3 separate regions of the Homo sapiens genome follow, and all the other regions are linked to region 2. The links are contacts of gene promoters, found by promoter capture Hi-C in blood cells and fetal thymus (Javierre and others, 2016). All regions are on one chromosome and are shown on one strand. Each heading gives the region's core, a stretch centred on a gene start or on the middle of the fragment in contact. The rest is flanking DNA. Distances are from core to core; before and after follow the strand shown. Region 1 overlaps R3HCC1L (R3H domain and coiled-coil containing 1 like). Region 2 holds the start of NOC3L (NOC3 like DNA replication regulator). Region 3 overlaps RPP30 (ribonuclease P/MRP subunit p30).

Region 1 (4,328 bases), core at 1,085-3,584, 3.8 Mb after region 2:
GTTGCAGTGAGCCGAGATCACACCACTGTGCTCCAGCCTGGCGACAGAGCAAGACTCCCGTCTCAAAAAAAAAAAAGTTTGTAAGCATTTTGGATTTCGGATTTTCCGATTAGGGATTCTCAACCTGTAGTTTTTGATTTTGGGCAAATTAGTTGACTTCTCTGAGCCTGTTTCCTAATCTCTCAAATGGAGGTAAATGGCATTATGTCACAAGGTGTCTACAAAGATGAAATGAGATGTGACCATAAATGGCTTACTAGTGCTGGGTACAAATAAAGTTCTCATTATTTTGTTGCTGTTGTTATTGATGATTATGATAATAGTGATGATGATAATTTTAGGTATTTTCCTGAAATTCCATTTATCTGTAAAATGAGGATAGTCATCCTTAATTCACAAACTTTAAAAAATACTGTAAATAGAAGTTGTCAGATTGCAGTTTGTTTTTTAGCAATTGCATTTTATATAAAAATTATATTAGATTTTTTTTCAACTTTAGAGGTTCCTAAAATGCTGTTGTGCAAGGTTATTGGGCTTTGCTGTGTTTCTGTTTTTCTAGAGATTCCAAATGTTGCTTTGTACCTAGTTTGTTGAAATTGAACTGGTGCTTCATTTACAACCTGTAGTAAGAATGCAATTCTGTACATTGTAGCTTGTAGCAGAGCAATTATCTATCTTTATGACTCAGATATTGACTAGGATAGACGTTTATGGAACAGTTTTGTCTTCCTGCCTTATTTTTATTTTTATTTTTTTTAAGCCAGACTATTAGACTTTAAAATTTAAGCTTATTGGATAGGGTCTGGGAGACTTGGTGACCTTCATTTTTTCAAGATGGCATTTCTTAGTGACTGATGCTAATGATGGCATTGGTATGTATGTATCTGCAGGGAGTGAGAGTTGAGAAAAACCAAGGAGGAAAGCCTTATAGAGAAAAATGGTTTGTTGGTCAAGGCAAAGTCTTGGAGTTTAGAATTGAAGTATATATTTTTTACTTCCTTCAAGTGCCATGTTGACTACCAGATATCTGCAGATTCAGATGCTTAGGAAATGTTTCCTTTACTCTCTTTTTTGATGTGGTATGCCTGTGCTATGTTTTGCCAGCTTCTTTCTTACCTTTAGTTATGAATCAGCAAGATAACTATTTTTTCACACCAGACTTGTATACAAAGCTATGACAATAGAAAGTCACTTCCATTAAAATCTACTTTGTATGCTATAATGTGTTAATTTTTCCTTTATGTTTTAATCTTAAACACTTTTGGCTGGGCCTGGTAGCTCACTCTTGTACTTTCAGCATTTTGAGATCCTCTGAGGTAGGCTCATTTGAGGCCAAGAGTTCAAGACCAGCCTGGGCAACAAAGTGAGACTTCATCTTTATTAAAAAAAAAAAATCAATTAAACACTTTTGTTCCTTGACTGTTTTTTACTTAAAAGGAATTTTTGGAAGGTATGCTAATTCTCATCTATAGTGTGTGAGTATGTATAGTGGATGCTCAGTAATGAGTGTGCTGAATAGTTCTGAATAGGAACATTTTGTTGATTGTCCTAGGTCACTGAGGTGCACTCTGGAGAGGCCATGTAGCATTGTGGCAATAACCTATGCTTTGGAGTCAAGACAGACCAAGGTCTGAATCCAGGCTCACTAGATGTAACTTTGGTTCATATGATCATTCTGAATTCAGTTTCTCATCATCTGGAAGACAGATTAGACTAACCCTGCATGGTTGAGAAGATTAAAGATTATTCGAATGAGGCACATATTAGCCAGGTTTAGTATAATATTAAAGATTGGGGTGGTGTTGTTATTACTATTTTTAATTTTTATTTTTTTTCTGAAAGGTATGGATTTTGTTGATACATCTATATTCATTCCCCTAATGCTTCAATGATCAGTGTGTTTCTTAGCCAAGGTTAAGGTTGTTGACTGTGACCATGGAACCTAGAAACACACAGCAAAGCTAATTGGCCAGCATGGAGTTTGAGTCTGTGACCTTGTCCTCATTAGCTCCATAAGCTAACTATTCACAAATATCTCACCAGAATGAATGAAAAGACTGGTATATTTTTTATTTGGCCCTAATGCAACTCATTAGACATAAGTAAATGAACTAGTGCCAGAAGCAAAAGTATAGATTTTTCATTAGCTTATATAAATATATGATTAGCCGTCACACTATGTATAAAACTCGTGACCTGTAGGATGATCTTTGACAACCCCAGTAACCTAAGCTTATAATTTAGACATTTCTTTTAGTTGTTGAATTATATTTGTTGTAGACTTCTCACCTATAGGAGAAGTGAGAAGAAATGGAGCTAGGCTATTCATGCCTTGAAAGAGTACCCTCCTTCTGTTGTGCTACCCACGAGGAAATGTGCTCTTCGCTAGTGCAGAAAACATTTAGAATTATCCAGTAATGAGCCCAGCAGGATGGATGAAGCTTGGGGAACTCCTAAGAGCTTATTGAATTACAGAGAAATTCCAGTTGTCAAAGCATTAGATAGAGGAAAAGTTATAGGGTGTTACTTAGCAGCAGTAAGCCTGCATTTGGAGAGAATTTTCTTTTCTCTTAATAAAACATGGACCAATTGCTTCGAGTCTGTGGTGTCCATTTTTCACTGTCTCATGCTAGCCTTCTGTATAGTTTTTCATTCTTCAAATTCACCCTTCAGTTTTATTAATATTTGTTGTCCTTCTTGTATCTTTTTTTTTAATGCCAGATATAGCTGGATTGGGACTAGGGATAAAAACAGAAGCAGAGAAGCACTGTTGGAAAACAGATTCTAGTATCTAGTATCGTGAGGTTTCCAAATAACATGGGTCAAACTGAACATGAGGATACGGATTTCTGGGATAGGCAAATGGCTGACAGTTCATGACCATTTAACCTGTGCAGAGTGAATAATGTGGGCAAAAGGTGTGTAGCACTCCTTAATATCACATTTGTCTCTTAGAAAAGAATCTGAATGCCTGTAGTGTTCATATTGGCTTGCAGTTGTGCTGTTTCAAGTTCTTTGCCATGGAATGCCAGAAGACTATTAAAGAAAGAAGGGAAGCAGTTGGATTTACATCCTGATTTCTCAAATTGTATGCCAGTCGTCCTGTTTCTGTTTTCTTGTCTTTAAAATAGGGTTAATAAAACCAACTCTGCTTGTTTATAAATATTAAAAGGAAAAGTAAACAGCAAGGATGTATTAAAAATGAGGTGGATAACTGGGGGAGAGACGGAAAGGCAGAATCCAAGAGAGGAGCTCAAAGACACCTACACACAGAGTCATAGAGACACATGCAATAGGCAGAGAGAGAGGAGGGTCAGTCAGAGACAGAGAAGTCAAAAACAGAGAGGGACAGTCACCTAGGCAGAGTTAGAAAGCAGGGTAATCAGAGATGTAGACAGACGGGCAGAGTTAGAAATGAGGGACAGACAGATACAGGGAGGGAGACAGAAAGAGTGAATGTCATGAGTAAGATGGAGAGCTTATTGGATTTTTGTCTGTTATTTGAGAAGAACATGTAAATATTTATAGTTGGCTAGGAAAGGGAAAATAAACAGATATTAATAGTAAATCAAGTAACATGAAATTTTTATTACACTAACATTTTTCCTTAAATACTAAGTTTATTTTGCATATTCAGCATGCAAATATCAAGTCAATTTATGTATTACCTGTTAACTACTTACGTGACCTCTCAGTGTAGTTTAAACACATTTTTAAAAAAATTAAGATTAATATTAATTTTTTCCTCAAAAAATCTAATATATAACTTACTATAGAAAACATGGCAAATACAGGAAATTTAAAAGGAGAACAGAAAACACTCATAATCTCACAATCTAAACATAACATAATGAGGCCCACATTTTTCATGTTTTTTTTTTCCCAGTCTTCTTTTTCTAGGCATTTACTAAAGCCCATCTACTTTCCTGAAGGACCCAAAAGCTGTTTATAAGTCCAAAATGATGCTGTAACTATTTGTGGCAGAGTTAACTTTATAATCCTATTTTGGCACTTAGGTACTTTCATAAACTAGTGTGTACCCATTTTATTCTCTTCCTAGATTGTAAACTTTTAACTACAGACTATATGTTATTCATCTTTGTGTCTTAGGAATCTAGGAAAGTATCTTACATATCATAGGTATTCAGGGTATATATGAGATGAATTGTTAAGCCTCCTAAGTAGAAACTGTCTTATTTAAACAGGTCTGCCAAATTGCACATTGGATTGGACCTTCCTTAAAGTTGAGAAAAACTTGATTTTAGGGGTGGTGTGTATGTGTGTAATGTAAAGCTACCAAACTGGGAAAGGGCACTTTTTTTCTGGTT
Region 2 (4,413 bases), core at 508-3,007:
AGATAGTTTTACAAAATAACCATGACAATTACAACTCAATTTCACCCCAAGTTTCCACATGAAAAGAAAGTCAGAAGTTTAGAAGTGTACCTTGGCAATACTGTGAAGAATGAACCAGAGACAAGCAATGTTCTTACCTTACCTAACTGCTGGTGAATGGCAAAGTGGCAGCACTGGCACACTGCCCAATATTTATGTAACGGAGTACTTTCAGTTTGTTTTCCCAAGTAGTGCATCTTCAGATCTGCCTTCCAGACAAACTAAAAGCAGAAGCTTGAATGAATACTGTATTGAAATGTTTTCTCATACTGACTGTGATAAAGCATATATGCTTTATAGCAGTCCTATAGGACTACTATCCTTACCCACTCTAGGAAGATCTGAGAACAAGAAAAGCGATTACTAGAAAGCAAAGTTATTTCCATGAAGAACACTTCAGAATAAATCAATGGAAACCAGAGCACATGATGTTTTCACAATTACCTGGTCGCTTTTCCTTTGGGTTCTCCAATGGAATGGGTTTCTTAGACACAGCATCTTTCACAGCTTGCCTTAGTTTCCTCTGTTCTTTTCGGTACTTCTTGAGAGTGCTTTGTTGTTTAAACTGCTTATTTTTTAGCTTGTTTTCAAGTTTGACTTTACTAGTTTTTATTAACTTGCGAAAGCTTGGGATCTGTTTTTTATTTCTTCTCTAGAAAATAACAGAAAGAATACTGCATACCCAGAAACTTATTTTTTAAATCAGGTTAAAGAGAACTGATTACAAATTTCATTAGACCAATTCCACAATTTCAATGTCCCACAGCCACAGACTTGCATATAAAAGCTAAAACCAAACGATGGCTTTAATCCTACAGAAGAGCGCTACAGCATCAGTTATTCAATCCCAATTCACAGCAATTCAAAGGGTTCTACGATCCCCAAACAGGTTAAGAACCACTGATCTAGTAGTGGTAAGTGGCTATTCAAGGCTAGTTTAACACACCTGTAGTTTAACACATTCAAAGCAAAATGCTGGCTGTCTTTAATAAAACTTACATTTATCTACGATTTTATTACTTACAAAGTGCTCCAACAAATCACCTCTAACAGCCTAGTTGAGTACTGACTGCTGTTATCCTCACATTACTGATGAAGCTGCCAAAAGACCCATAAACTAAGGAGGGCAAAACTGAATTCGGATCTTTGGATTCCACTTCTCTTGCTGGTGACTCATTCAGAAATCCCAAAGTTAGTCCTGAACCCCAGGACTACCTCTTATTTTCTGGGAGAACCAGGACAAATCACTTGCTTTTCTATCTCTTTACCCTTCATGGGTACCGTGACTCACATTATAAACTCGCTGAGGGTAGGACCCTGCTTCTCATTTGTGAAAAACGAGTTCGAAAGACGGTCTTGAAAAATTCCTTCAAAGTATGAAATCCCACGCATGCAAAACTCCGTGCCTGTCTCTTCGTGATACTCTGAAGTGGTGCGCGCACACAGTGGGTAACCAAGGATGAGCTCGGTGTAAGGAATGGAAAGCCCCCAGTCTAAACCACCGCCCCCTAGACACGGGTGAAAACCTGCCTAAAAGCTAACTCAGGCAGTGACTCTATCACCCGAAGGGGCCCTAGGCCGCGGCGACCGGGCTTTTGAGGACACTTACCGCCTTCATCCTTAGGCCTTAAATGAATGCCGGCCAGACAAGTTCACCAGAAGCAGGGTTACTACAGAAATCCCGGGGAATGACACACGTGCCGAAGTCCCTACACTACCAGAGCCGGAAACGGCCTTCAGTCCCTCCCAATCCTCCGCCGCCGGAAGTGAGGGCGGGACTTCCGTAGACAGGTTCGGGCTCGCGCCCTCTCGCGGTGACTGTCTCGCGGCCCTGGACCGGTTGCCCCCCGGCGTGCGCGCGCGGACTGGCACGAGGGAAGCCCCGAGGGCGTCGGTGCCAAAGGCGGGAAGCCGGGCGGGAGGGGCGCATTTTGCAAGGTTATCTGAGTATGATTCTTTGACTCTCGCCCTATTTATTTCTTTTAAAACCTTGGGGAAATCGGGCTCCTCCTCTCAGAATGAGAGGACTTGGTTTTTTCGGTCACCTCATTGCATTTTGTGCCTCTCCTCACGTTGCTTATCTCATGCTGTTATAGATACTGATTTTCGTAGTCTTTTTCCTCCATACAGTCCTGAGGGCAGAAAGAAGCTTATTTTTTGTGTGTAATGCCTGCCCCTCGACGGACATTCTGGCCGTGTTTGTAGCATGGCGAATGATTTCTCATCAGCCTTGGTCACTTAAAAGTCTGTGATTCTTAGTGTTTTATTTTGCATTTTTTTTTTGCTTTAATTTTTAACCATTAGCTGATAAAGAACTGTATCCATGGCTGGGTGCGGTGGTTCACGCTTGTAATCCCAGCACTTAGGGAGGCAGAGGCGGGTGGATCACCTGAGTTCCAGGAGTTCGAGACCAGCCTGGCCAACATGGTGAAACCCTGTCTCTACTAAAAATACAAAAATCAGCCAGACATGGTGGCGTGCGCCTGTAATCCTAGCTACTCGGGAGGCTGAGGCAGGAGAATCGCTTGAACCCAGGAGGCAGAGGTTGCAGTGAGTCGAGATCACACCACTGCACTCCAGCCTGGGTGACAGAGCAAGACTGTCTAAAAAATAAAAATAAAAATAAAAAACTGTATCTGCATTTCAGTATCTTACAACTTTGGGTAAATTCTGTCTGCTTAGTAATTTCACCAAAGTCGTTTTTTGTTTTTGTTTTTTGAGACGGAGTCTTGCTCTGGCGCCCAGGCTGGAGTGCAGTGGCGCAATCTGGGCTCATTGCAAGCTCTGCCTTCTGGGTTCACGCCATTCTCCTGCCTCAGCCTCCCGAGTAACTGGAACTACAGGCGCCCGCCACCACGCCCAGCTAATTTTTTTTGTATTTTTAGTAGAGACGGGGTTTCACCGTGTTAGCCAGGATGGTCTCGATCTCCTGACCTCGTGATTCGCCCACCTTGGCCTCCCAAAGTGCTGGGATAACAGGCATGAGCCACCGCGCCCCGCCTAAAGTCGTTCATTTTTACAGGAAGTTTTATGGATTGCAAGAATAAGAGTATCAAAGTGCTTGTCTCTCAAAGACTTTTTTTTCTCAATAAATTTAAGCATTCCACTTCAAGTTTTTTGTGGGTTTTTTTGAGTCTATGATTTTTGAGCATGGCCCTGACACAGAGTCTGGCCTCGCAGTCCTGAGCAGGTGGGAAAACCCAGTAGTGCGGCTCAAAGGGTTCTGAGCCCCTTGAATAGTGTTGCTCTTAGAGAGACTGAGGGAAAAAAGTACCAATTTCCTGATCCCACCACAAAGACCAAGAGGTCCATCTGGCACTCTTCTTTCAACCTCCCTTCCAACTTCTTCCTTGCTCTGTCTCCTTCCACACAGTGTCAGAAACAGCAGAGCCTGTCCCGCTGGAGTATTACTTCATCAAACAAGTGGAAAACATCAGCCTGTGCTCTTCCCAAGTGCCTGAATTCCCTCCCAAGCATATCAACATATCTACAGTCACTCCCATCCTTTTAGCCTTCCTTCCAGTCTCTCCAAGGATGAGGCATCCCCATTCCAGTTCAAAACCAACTCCTCCCAGCTTCATCAGATTCTTGTATCATTAATTATCCCTTCTTTCCTGTGTTCTTTCCCTCTCTAATAGATCCTTCCCCTCAGCTTATAAACATATTCAAATCTCTTCCATTTTTAAGATTTGTTCTAATAAACTTATCTCCCTTTAATTGCTCTTTTATGTGCCTCTTTTCCTACTTGTCCCTACTTCCAGAAAAAAGTATTCTTTTAGCGTCTCCACTTTCTCTTCTCTATTGTCATAGCCCAATCCTGTGCTAGTATTTTCTTTTTTAATATAAAGATTGCCTTTTTTTATTTTTTTTCTCTGTTGCCCAGGCTGGAGTGCAGTGGCAGCTCTCAGCTCACTGCAGCCTCAACCTCCCAGGCTCAAGGGATCCTCCACCTCAGCTTCCTGGGTAGCTGAAACTACAGGCACGCACCACCATGCCCGGCTAATTTATATTATTTGCAGAGATTTGGTCTTGCTATACTGCCTAGGCTGGTCTCAAACTCCTGGGCTCAAGCAGTCCTCCCACCTCAACCTCCCAAAGTGCTGGGATTACAGGCATGAGCCACCATGCCCAGCATGTGCTAGCTTTTTTAAGAACTGTGTCATACTCTTGGCCCATTTTAAGTTTACAATCAACTAAAATCTCTGGATCATTTTAAAGCAATTGTTGCCAAGCTAAATCTCTCCCATCTTGAATTCGAGCAGCCTGTTGTTCGAAAATACTCAAAAATGGAAGTTTATATGATTCCTTTTAATTCCATTTAATCTTGCTGGTTTCTTAATTCTGTGTGTCCACCTTTGTGTCATCTCTTCTTCA
Region 3 (4,280 bases), core at 1,428-3,927, 3.5 Mb before region 2:
ATGAGGGAACTGAGGCCTAACGAGGGCGAGGGATTTGCATAGGGGCCTACAGCTGATAGGTGACAGAAGCCGGAGCTGGACTCCAAGGGTACAATCTTCTAAGCTTCTAAGTTACTATCAGCCCTTCCTGATTCTCACGACAGTGTCTAAACAAATACTGGAATTTGGGGCACGGACAGGAAGCGCCGTGGAGGCTCGGAGAAGGAGGAGGACGTGGGAGTGTTGGAACAATACTATCTAGACAGAGAGAGGGTAGGTGGGGGCAGAGGACATACACAGCGGAGTGGAGGTGGAGGAGGAGGATAGCATGGCCCAAATCGAAGGGAAGCGAAAGCCTTGAGAGACGAGAACCTGTTTTAACTATTGGAGTTAGTCATGGGTTCTGTATTCCGTAGACTGTAAAGTGTTGGAATAGAGAGATTAAAAAGAATCAAGAGGTTCGTGTAGTAACATCTGCTCCTCAGAGACAGTTTTCAGCTCATTGTGAGTTCTGATTACTGATACTGTTCAGAGGTGGTGCTAGAAATGACAACCACTTCTTGGCAAAGTGAATCACACCACTTTTTTATTGTTCTCTTTATGAAGTATCCGTGGCGAAATGACTGTCCCTTTCCACTGCTGCCACTAAATGAACGTTATCTCTGTGGTACTTTGCTCATCAGCACGAAGACGAAAGTAGACATGATGATCTGGGCCATTTGGCGCTAATGTTCTTTGATCCTGTAAAATAAGTTTTCCTAGGTGTAGTTTGTCGCAATTATTACCTCCTCAATGAGGCTTTTCCTGACGCCATCCCATTTTTGAATAAATCATGAGCTTCCTAAGAGAATTGCCATGTCTTATCCTTTTATTTACTGTGCTTAACACGTTCACTCTGCAGGCACCAGTACATGGCAGTTACTCAGTTAATGCTTGTGGAATAAACTGAACACATTAAAAAAATTAATACAAAAAAGAAAAGTTAATAATGATTTCTTTAGAGAATTTCCCCCAGTTTAAAATACACTTGGAAGAGGTGTGGTAATATATGTACATTGTTAGTGGTTATTTGTTTGTAAATTAAATGGAATTCATGGCATATAAAGTTGCCTCAACTTACAAGTCAAAGACAAAGGACTGCTCTGCTATTTGATGAGTCTGGAACTAAATAGTGGACATTTGCAAAGAATAGGAAAGACAGAGCCCTGGTTCTCAGTTTCTGATGTGATACAAGAAACCAATAATAAGCTTCAGAAATATACTGTGTAAATTAAAATACCCTAAAGCCTGATTGGGGAAGTAAGTACTCCTAAGCTGCCAGATGAGGAGTAGTCTAGGAAAAAGTTTTGTGGAGAAACAGATCCTAGTTGACATTTCTGTAGAACGGTAGGGACATTGTTTAGTAGCCAAAAGGATATCCTAAATGGGTATAACAAGGAAGTTTAGAGCAGATTTGGGAGTGTGGTAAAGAAGAATAGGGAGGAGGTGTGGCTGGTTGATTTGACTAACTGGGTGCAAGGTGAAGCCCAAGGTACAGGCATACTTGTGATTTTTTTTTTGTTTTTAAGGGTAACTTTCTTCAGGGAGCCTTTTGTGACCCCTACACCAGGTTTCACTGTGCTATGTACTTCCATAGAATCCTTACTTATAAAAAACATGTATTTATATACAATGACTTGCTTAATTGCCTTATTTGCCTTCGTTCTCCAACAGACTAGGCTGTAAATTTCTTGTGGAGAAGGATTATATTATTTATCCTGTATGCTCAACACCAGTTTAGGGCTTGTCAAGTAATGGATGCTCAGTAAATATTTGAGGGAGGAAGGGAAGAAGGAAGTTGGACAAACTGTTGAGAGTTTGGCATTGATATGTATTTTAATGTTAATATCCTTTCATCCCCATTGGTATTTTTAAAAATTAAAGATGGGAGTCATGATTTAGATTTTTTTTTGGTAGCCCAAATGTCCAGAACAGTGCTAACTGATGAGGATAATAAAGCAAGCCCTTGACCTCAAGGAGCTCCCAGTCTGTCGATGGTGTGCAGCTTAAAATGGGAAGCGGGCAGTGGTGTGAGGGAGTTATCACTCCATTTCTCCTTAGGAAAGGAGTCTCTGAAGGAAGTAGAAGGATAAAAAGCAAAAGAAATGAACGGGAATAAAAGTGACAGTGATAAAGTAGGAACTTGATGGGATAAAAATGAATATAGGGTCATGAAAGAGAATGACATTTGAAAAGGAGAAGCACAAAGTTAAGAGTCTTTAGTATCATTTTAATAATAATTCATAATGGTTAAACAAAGACCTGTGTGCCAGGCACTGTTCTCAAACACCTCATGTGTATTATTTCATTTAAATTTCATGACAGTGTATGAAGAAAGTGTTGTTATTTTCACCATTTGACAGATGAGGAACCTGAAACTTCATGTTAAGTAACTTGTAAGTGGTAGTGCATAGACTTTAAATCAGGCAGACTGACACTAGAGTTCACATTCATAACCACTCCTCAAATGTCCTCCTACTCTTGACATCTAGACTCAGGATGGACCTGTGTTACAGGAAGGAGAGGTTGTTATATTTAACAAAAGTGTTCAATTTTTCTTTTTCAGTTGGCTATTCAGTTGTTGCTATCAATCATATCGTTGACTTTAAGGAAAAGAAACAGGTAAAATAATATTTCTAAAGTTAATAAGTTCATAAATAAGTATTTGTAATTCTGTTTGTATTGGTAATTTGGAAGCTACAGATTAGAATATTTCTTAAATGCACCCCTTTGTGCACTACTACTTTTCTATTTTATATAGAAACAGTCGAGCTGATGCATATTTATACAATGATGATTTTTGTGAGGTAATATGACATAGTGTTCAGGATTCTTAAAGGTGATTTGAAATTAAGTTACTTTTCACTGTTCAAAAAGTGCATTGTTATTGGCTGGACTGTAATCAAAATATTTAGTCCTTTTTATTCTATTGTCATGGGCTTATTAACTACTTTCTCTCTTAAACATTACTAATAAGTATGTATATTTCTCTTTAGGCCAACAACTGTATCCTGTAGATTATTTCAGTCTAAAAATTAGTTTTCATTCTTCCTATTCACTGATGTTTACAGTTGCTTCTCTATTTAGCTTTCTTTTTAAAAATAATTTTTAAAAGTTTTTTTGAATACCAGAAATCACCTTGCTTTCTTTTTAAAAAAAATGCATATTTTTTCTGAGAACACCTCGTAATTTTTCCATTATGCCTTGTGCTATTAATGGATACAATCTGCAGTAACTATTTATCGTTTGTTGTAGGAAATTGAAAAACCAGTAGCTGTTTCTGAACTCTTCACAACTTTGCCAATTGTACAGGTAGGTGTTTTGTTGTTTACGAAGCATAATATCTATTTATTCAGTTAAAAGGTACCTAATTATTGTGCTATTCTCTAGCTTGAGCTGCACCTTACTCTGAGTACCAGTCTTAACGTTTTCCTCAAGGCTCAGCTCTTCAGGAAACATTCTTTTACTATCAATTCAGCATTGCTTTGATGATCTTCTTTCCTGAAGTCCTACAATTTTTAAATTATCTCGTTATGTAGTTTAAGATATATACATCTCTTTCTGTGGCTGTATTGTAAATTCCTAGAGAACAAGGACTGGGTTTTATTGATCTTCACTATCCCTTATAGCCAGTACCTTTTAATGAATACTTTCCACTGGTAAAAAGGAAAATCAATTATTGTCTTTTGTGCTTTTTTGACATCATGTCTTTTTTAAATAGGGAAAATCAAGACCAATTAAAATTTTAACTAGATTAACAATTATTGTCTCGGATCCATCTCACTGCAATGTTTTGGTAAGTTAATTATTTTTCTTCTCTCCTTTTGGCTTTGTGAGTTGTATTGATTAATGTTGAACAATGTTGCATTTTGTCTTCCCCATTTTACATTTTCCCTCGCCCCCGCCAAACCATGACACCTGCTTGCTCTCCTTGTCCTCAGAATTCACACAGTGTAATATGTCTGTTCCACTTACTCATGGCACATGTGTAGTGATACCACAATTAAAGAATCCCTTGGCAACTGTTACTCATTGAACTCACGTGCACCAGACTTAAGGTGGGTGCTGGGGGGTATTGCCATGAATAATAGCACAATCCTTGAACTTATAAAGCTTAAAGTTTAATTGGCAAGGCAAGCACTGAACAAATAATAATTACAAATGTAAGGAATGTTCCAAGGTAGGGAAGTGGTAAATAAAGGATGCTCTGGGAGTATGTAACCTGAGTAAGTTGATATTCAAGCTGGGAGACAGAAGAGTCA

What was found. Contacts are between HindIII fragments. The CHiCAGO score rates a contact against its expected background, and 5 or more counts as called.
Region 1: a contact is called between a fragment that was not itself captured here and the fragment with the promoter of NOC3L in region 2, in 1 of 17 cell types (activated CD4 T cells). The highest score is 7.8, in activated CD4 T cells.
Region 3: a contact is called between a fragment that was not itself captured here and the fragment with the promoter of NOC3L in region 2, in 1 of 17 cell types (monocytes). The highest score is 6.4, in monocytes.

Annotation. Positions count from the first base shown.
Region 1 is chr10:98,137,147-98,141,474 of GRCh38, forward strand. All of the region lies in intron 1 of R3HCC1L (R3H domain and coiled-coil containing 1 like), which reads left to right. Among named protein-coding and RNA genes, the nearest start is that of R3HCC1L, 4.7 kb to the left of the region's middle. The HindIII fragment of the contact is 209 bases long and covers 2,231-2,439 here.
Region 2 is chr10:94,361,182-94,365,594 of GRCh38, forward strand. NOC3L (NOC3 like DNA replication regulator) reads right to left here and starts at 1,758. Exons shown (of 21, transcript NM_022451.11): 1 at 1,649-1,758; 2 at 484-691. The coding sequence starts at 1,657. RefSeq lists an enhancer at 1,432-1,691 and a silencer at 1,832-1,961. The HindIII fragment of the contact is 1,523 bases long and covers 664-2,186 here.
Region 3 is chr10:90,872,285-90,876,564 of GRCh38, forward strand. RPP30 (ribonuclease P/MRP subunit p30) reads left to right here. Exons shown (of 11, transcript NM_006413.5): 2 at 2,585-2,640; 3 at 3,274-3,330; 4 at 3,740-3,814. Among named protein-coding and RNA genes, the nearest start is that of RPP30, 2.5 kb to the left of the region's middle. The HindIII fragment of the contact is 2,904 bases long and covers 1,226-4,129 here.